Regions from separate parts of the Homo sapiens genome. Here region 1 is linked to region 2. Evidence: promoter capture Hi-C in 16 types of primary human blood cells and fetal thymus (Javierre and others, 2016). All regions are on one chromosome and are shown on one strand. The core of a region is centred on a gene start or on the middle of the fragment in contact, and the rest is flanking DNA. Distances in the headings are between cores, read along the strand shown. Region 1 overlaps URB1 (URB1 ribosome biogenesis factor). Region 2 holds the start of CFAP298 (cilia and flagella associated protein 298).

The links. Contacts are between HindIII fragments. The CHiCAGO score rates a contact against its expected background, and 5 or more counts as called.
Region 1: a fragment that was not itself captured here is called in contact with the fragment with the promoter of CFAP298 in region 2 in 6 of 17 cell types (M2 macrophages, M1 macrophages, M0 macrophages and 3 more); the score reaches 7.4 in M2 macrophages.

Annotation. Positions count from the first base shown.
Region 1 is chr21:32,369,739-32,373,373 of GRCh38, reverse strand. URB1 (URB1 ribosome biogenesis factor) reads left to right here. Exons shown (of 39, transcript NM_014825.3): 8 at 743-867. Among named protein-coding and RNA genes, the nearest start is that of SNORA80A, 5.8 kb to the left of the region's middle. The HindIII fragment of the contact is 1,649 bases long and covers 520-2,168 here.
Region 2 is chr21:32,610,542-32,614,125 of GRCh38, reverse strand. It overlaps CFAP298 (cilia and flagella associated protein 298), which reads left to right and starts at 1,749. Exons shown (of 7, transcript NM_021254.4): 1 at 1,749-2,021. The coding sequence starts at 1,883. CFAP298-TCP10L (CFAP298-TCP10L readthrough) reads left to right here and starts at 1,749. Exons shown (of 12, transcript NR_146639.2): 1 at 1,749-2,021. RefSeq lists enhancers at 1,508-1,617, 2,278-2,327. The HindIII fragment of the contact is 6,059 bases long and covers 1-3,584 here.

The sequences.
Region 1 (3,635 bases), core at 95-2,594, 240 kb after region 2:
CCTGTTAGACCTGCAGGGTCATCCCGGCCATCTTTTCCTCTTGCTTTACCTCTGCCTTCCCATCCTTCCATTCTTTCATGTCCAGTTGTTGGAGTTTCAAGGCTTGTTGTGTGTTTTTTGTTTGTTTGTTTGTTTTTAACCTCAGGATCCTGAATGTCTAGGAGCCTCACCTACTGACATATATAATTTATTTTGTGCTAGTTAACTCGTGCTAAATTGAAACAGCTGCTCTTAACATCGACCCAATGCCAGTGTATATTTTAATTTTCTTCAGGGTGTTACTGAACATGGACTTGGCCAGAGTAGTAAAGGCACAGACTTCCTGTTAACGTTATAATAATTCACCTCTCAAGAGCCTAATATTTCACCTCCTTTTATCTTGGAGACTTGCCCAGGTCCTCTTGTTTTGAACATGTTTTTGTATGCTCTAGACCAGCAAGCCTCAGAGGCTGCATAAAAACACTCCCAAATATGGAATTTTATTCAAATGAACAAGAGAAATTAGATCACTTTAAAGCTTTTAAAAATACAGGTTTAAACTTGCCCCTCTTCAGAGTATTCTTTTATCTTGATCGGTGTATCTTTTTGTTGTTGTTTTCATTTATTGTTTGGAATGACACCAAGTATTTAAAATGTTTTCTAAATTGTCATCGGCAGTTAATATTGTCCTTGTTTTTACTCTAGCTCTTACTAAAGTGTATGAGCTTGGGATTTTCATTGAATTTTTAAAAAATCTTCATAGGTTTCTGCCGAAGAAGCAGGGAAAACCATGGTGCGGGAGCTTGTTCATAACTTCCTGATGGATCTTTGCTGTTCACTCAAGCATGGAATTAATTTTTACGATGCATCTTTGGGTACCTTTGGCAGGTAAAGTATAACACTCTTGTGGACCCCAGGGTGTGTATGTTCCTCAGAAGTCACCACATATGTGAGTGTCTAGTGGAACTGTAGTAGGTTAGAACTAGAATTGTGGACATTATCTAACTCGTTTCAGGGTTGAACAGTTGTAGTCCCAGAGAACTTCTCCTTGTTGCATGTCCTCAGGGGCAGTTCTGAGGGTAGCTGTCTATTAGCACTTAGTTAGGTCATGGGATATTTCACCCAGGGAGGTGCTGCGGATGTTTACCTAAAGACAGTGTTCGTCAGCTGGAGCTCAGAAAAGGCGTCTGCCTTGCCAGAGAGGGTTGGCCCTGACATGGGCCTCACAGCAGTCCTGACGCAGGTACCATTGTTATGCCAGCTTTGCAGAGGAAGAAAGTAGTTCTAGAGAGGTCGAGACACTTACACTGGTTAAATGGCAGAGGTTGCACTGGAATCCAGGAAGTCCAGCTCCAAACTGATACTAAAACAGTCCTCCCTCTCCTTGACAGGCTGCCCATGAGTCACGGTTTCAAAATTGTTTTTTTTTTTAACATTTTGTTTCACATTTCACAATTGTGGTAACATTTCATCAGTAAGGAAACATATTAAGTTCAAATCTACTGGTTTTGATCATATTCTTTAAGACTTTCTTTTTGTAATCGTATAATACAGGTCTATGTGATTTTTTTTTTTAATAACAAAAATGGCTTACTACTGTTCATCCTATCTGCTTTTTTCCCACTTGACAATAAAAATATTGGCCATGTTTTCTTGTCATTGTAAATGTGTAAATGATTTATTGTTTAATCCTTGTTATTCTATCCTAGCATTATATCACAAGGATTTAGGCAGTTTGATTTACTTCTAATTTCAGCCAGTCAGGAAATCAGGTGATTCCTTCAGAATGGAATAACATGGTGGGAGTTTTTCTGTCTGCTTATGACTTTGGACGTGTTTTGATTCTGAGGTCACTGTGATTTAACTTGTCACATCATTTCTTTTTTCTTTCATCAGTAAGAATGAGCTCATTTTCCTGCCAAAACATAACAGCAGACTTTTATAGTCGAATAGAATATTACACCATGCTTAAAACACATGCATTGTTCCCCCTTTTTAAAGCATTTTTCCTCCATAACTAGGCCCATGAAATAGATGAGCATTTAATGAGCATATTGAATCAACTTGTGGGTGTGCGTCTCTTTGCAGCAAGCTGTGATTTATGTGAATTTTGAAGCCATGGGCAAAAGACAAGTGTTTGTGCATAAGGGAAAGGAAGGAGATTTGTTTGTGGATGGTGATAGAAAGCTTTGAGAACACTGAATTGCATCGTTCCCTGTTCCCCAGTAGACACGTGGCCCACTCATTCATTTCATTCAGGTTCCTGTGCAGACCTCACCACTTCAGGGAGGCCTTCCCGGACAGCCCTTTCTGAAATAGTCCCTCCACTGTCACTGTGCTTTTTGCCTGGCTTAGGCTTCTGACTGTTCATACATTTATTTGCTGATTTATTTATTTGCTTGTTCATTATCAGATTGGTGAGAAGTGGTGAGAACGGGCGCTGGTCTATTATGGGCCTCCAGTCCCTAGGACAGTGCCTGGCACATAGTAGGTGTTCACTGAAAGCTGGTGTTAGAGCATAGAGCAAGGATTGGCAAACTTTTCTACAAAGGGCCAGATTGTATTTTGGGCTTGGCAGCCTACACAGTCTGTTGTGACCACTCAGTTGTGCCAGCAAAGCATCCATAGATGTAAATAAGTAGGTTTACCTGTGTCCCAATCAAATTACAATGATAGGTGCTGGGCCCTACTTTGCCAGTCGCTGGTGTAGGTTAACAGAGCAGACAGCTGGGCTTCAATCCCAACTTAGCTCTGAGACCTTCACTGGGTTAGGCATCCTCTCTGCCTCCATTATCTTGTCTATAAAGTGGGAATAAAAGTAGTGCCTGTCGCAGAGACGTGGTGGTAACTGCTTAGAGCAGTGTCTGGCATGTGTTGTGCACTACATAAATATTAATGCTCTCCATTTTATTACGTTGTTGATTAAAATAAAGCATGTGTAGTATTTTTAGCACTCTTTGTAGATTTAATATCCTTTTCATTTGACAGTACAAACTATTTTGTTCATGACATTTTCATATTAGGAAAGGATATTTTCATGTCCTTTTTTAAAGGATAGTTTTTCTGATCAAAATTATACTTTCTAATTTGGTTTTTAAAAAACTTTTTTTACTATATGTAAAGCTCTCATATAGCATTGTAGTTTTACTCAATTTATAAGGGGGATGTGAGACACCGGGGACCCTAGAAACCATCACTGTGTCGTGCACATGAGACAGAGTCTGAGGATTTTCTGGATGTTTTGACTTCACAGGGTCAAGCAGATAGGAAAGGGCATATTTTCTAAAAAGACTTTGAAGCAGATGAAGCCTAGTGTCCTGGGGCTTTGGCTGTGTGGATCCTGGGATTTTACTCCCTTTATGCAAGTTTTAGTCTCTGCAGACTTTCCTGCTTCTTACTTTTTTTTTTTTTTTTTTTTTGAGATGGAGACTCGCTCTGTTGTTCAGGATGGAAGGCAGTGGCACAGTCGTAGGTTACTGCAGCCTTGAAGTCCTGGGCTCACCTGCTTTTATTATCTTTTCATACCTTTGAAGACTGTCCACTTTGAGATAACTTTTCAGTATTTTTCTACGGTAGATTTTTTCCACATCCTAGCTTCTTTCATCTGCTAAATGAAAATGAAGGAATTTGAAATAAGCTAGAAACAGGGAAGGCAG
Region 2 (3,584 bases), core at 500-2,999:
ACTTTTTTGTGATATTGTGTCTAATATCCGGGGAAACAGAGGATGATATTACTCCCAATATCGCAGAGGGTGGACACCCCCCTGGGATATTGTTCCTAGTATCCCAACGGGGAGAGGATGATATTACTCCCCATATCGAAGGAAATGTACACCACCCCTGTGATATTGTTCCTGATATCCAGAGAGGAAAAGAATGATATTACTCCCAACAGCGAAGGAAATGTATACCCGCGCTGTGATATTTTTCCCAGTATCCGGGGGGGAGAGGATCATATTACTTCCAATATCGCAGGGTGTGTACACCCCCTCTGTTATCTTGTTGCTAACATCCAGGTTTGGGGAGGAAAACATTACTCCCAATATCACAGGGGGAGTACACCCCTCCGTGACCTTGTTAGTAATTTCCTGGGTGGAGAGGATGACATTACTCTCAATATCGCAGGGGTGTACACCCCACTGTGATATTTTTCTAAATATTCAGGGCGGGAGACGATAATATTACTCCCAATATCGCAGAAGGTGTACATTCCCTGACCATCAAACATAAGAAGTCCATCAACCTGTTTAGTTTTCTTTAGATCTGTATTTGAATTTGTGTTGTCCGTTTGTTTATTTATTATTTTTGAGACACAGTCTCACTCTGTCGCCAAGGCTGGAGGGTAGTGGCGCGATCTAGGCTCACTGCAACCTCCGCCTCCCGGGTTCAAGCAATTCTCCCACCTCAGGCTCCCTAGTAGCTGGAATTACTGGCACGCGCCACTACGTTCGGCTAATTTTTGTATTTTTAGTAGAGAAGGGGTTTCACCATGTTGGCCAGGCTGCTTTCGAACTCCTGACCTCAGGTGATCCGCCCTCCTCGGCCTCCCTAAGTGTTGGGATTACACGCGTGAGCCACCGCTCCTGGCCTGTCCATTTATTTTTGTTTTCTTTTTGTCACACTAAAATATAAGCTCCATGAGAGCAGTGACTCTGGATCTGTGGGGCCCGGAATAAACAGCGACTGACGCCGACTGCCTTCAGCAAGAGTCCGCTGGAGGATGGCTGGATATTTCTGGGAGGGTCGCTCTGGCAGGGGCCGCTGGAGCTACCCCAGCAACGCCATCCAAATCAACCTGAACGAAGAAGTGCGGACACTCGCCCTGGCCCCTCCGTCCTGAAAAGCTGACCCGCGCAAACAGCAGCGAACAGCAAGACTCAGTTCTGGGTCGCTGCCGCCGAACTTTCCCAGGCCGGAAACAGCGTGGAAACGTTGCCGGAAGTGGAGACTGAAAGCGGCGGAAGGGACGCTGGAATGTGGAGCGGTTGTGGGGCGGCAGCTGCGGAACTGCGCGATTGTGGTTCCCGCCGTATTTCCCGTTCCCCATCTAGTAACTCCCATCTCAGCCCACGTATCTCCCTGAGTGGAAATCTCGGGCCCCAGACCAGTCGATTGGGAGGTCCGCCCTCCCCTTCAGCGACTTGGTCTGTGTTTTGGCAGTTGCCGCGACAACAGTCACTTCCGGGAAGGGGCTCTGCGAATCTCCTTCCGTCGGTCCGCTCAGAATCAGCTGTCCTCTCAGACTGTGTGGGTGGTTTCCCCGGCCGCAGCTCCGTACGGGCTTGGATTGCTGGGCCTCGGTGCACCCCAGCCTCCCCCACTCGGGTTCTGAGCTTGAGCTGGCGGCTCTTTAACTCTGCTTCACTGTTGCTCTTGGCAACATCCACTTCCGGGAGCGAGTGCCGTTTCCCCCGCTCACCGCGGGCTAGGGAGCGTGGGATTCCGGACTGTGAGCGGCTGTTAGTGCGTCGCAGCTGCTGGCGATCCGGCGACCCTCGGCCGGCAGGACCCGCGGGCCACGCAGCCGGGGCCTTCTCAACGCCTCAGTACCTCGGCGGGACCGCCATGGTTCTGCTGCACGTGAAGCGGGGCGACGAGAGCCAGTTCCTGCTGCAGGCGCCTGGGAGTACCGAGCTGGAGGAGCTCACGGTGCAGGTGGCCCGGGTCTATAATGGGCGGCTCAAGGTGCAGCGCCTCTGCTCAGGTGCGGCTCGCGGGTGGGCCCATCCCGGACAGATCGAGAGACCGGCGTGGGATGGAGAAAGAGGGGCAGGGTGGGCCGAGGGGTCAGGTTTGTGAAGATTATTGAAGAGATTTGCAGCAGCCGGGGTTGAAACGGGACACTAGGGTTAACCGGAGATGAATAAGGAACCGGAGAAGATCCGGCCTGTCTGACACCCCGGGCTGGGAGGTGGGCCCAGGTGCCTCTCGGAGCCAGGATTTGGGGTGCTGCGAATAAGTGGAAATGGGCTGGGGAGGGAGGAGGGAGCCGAAAGGCCGGGCTGAACAGCAGACTTAGTGCAATTAATCACGTGTGAGGGGTGAGATGAGAACTAGGTGGGCTTTTAAAAGCTGAATTTACTATTTTTAGTCGCCCAATGTAAAGCAGCGAGCCACCTGGCTTTGGGACGGCCCCTTACAGTTGAGGAAGCCTTGGTGATCTTTCCCCGCCCTGGAAACGGCCTGTTGCGTTGCGGCGCCGTCTCCCTACCCCGCGCAGGTTCCAGGGCACCCGCTTTGCCGCAGAACTTTCCGGCGGTGGAAGGGCCCCCATCTGTGCTGTCCATTGGGCAGCTGCCGGCCACTTGTGGCCGTAGAGCATTTGGAATGTGGCTAGTGCGGCCAGGCAACCGAATTTTACATTTGCATTTTAATTAATTAAATATATATAAATATAAATAAATACCATATATATAGTATATATGAATATAAATAAATTATATATATGTATATATAAATATAAATAAATTATATATATATATATATATATGGTATGTGTGTGTGTGAGAGACAGGGTCTTACTGTTGCCCAGGCTGGAGTGCAGTGGCGCGATCTCTGCTCACTGCAACCTTCGCCTCCCGGGTTCAAGCTATTCTCCTGCCTCAGCCTCCCAAGTATCTGAGATTACAGGCGCCCACCACCACGCCCAGCTAATATTTGTATCTTTAGTGGACACGGGGTTTCATCATGTTGGCCAGGCTGGTCTCGAACGCCTGACCTCAGGTGATCCGCCTGCCTCCGCCTCCCAAAGTGCTAGGATTACAAGTGTGATCCATCGCGTCTGGGTCATTTTAATTTAAATAAATTTAAATCGCCAAGTGGAGCGAGTAGCTGCCGCATTAGACAGCATAGTTTTTGAACTTGACGGGATGATACTTCCTGATGTGGTCTAGGATATTACTGTTTATATAACTATCGTGTATATATAGAATATACAAACGTAACTATTTGCAATAAATAGTATATTCATTTATGTGATTTATTAAATTGCATGAATATGTGATTTATTATGAAATGTATTGATTACATTATATGAATATGTGAGTTTTGCACCGTGGAGAAATTCCTGAGGGTCATGGTTCTTTTCATGAAACTTATGTGTAGTTTCTTAATTGAGGTTCCAACACAAACTCAATATTAAATGTTATTTTTAAGTTAAAGCATTTGAGGAGAAAAGGAATTCATCTTCTTTTCCTATAACGTTATAAATTGGAAATGTGCTGAATGCTAAGAGTCACATTAGTGAACTGAAAATTCATGTATTTAT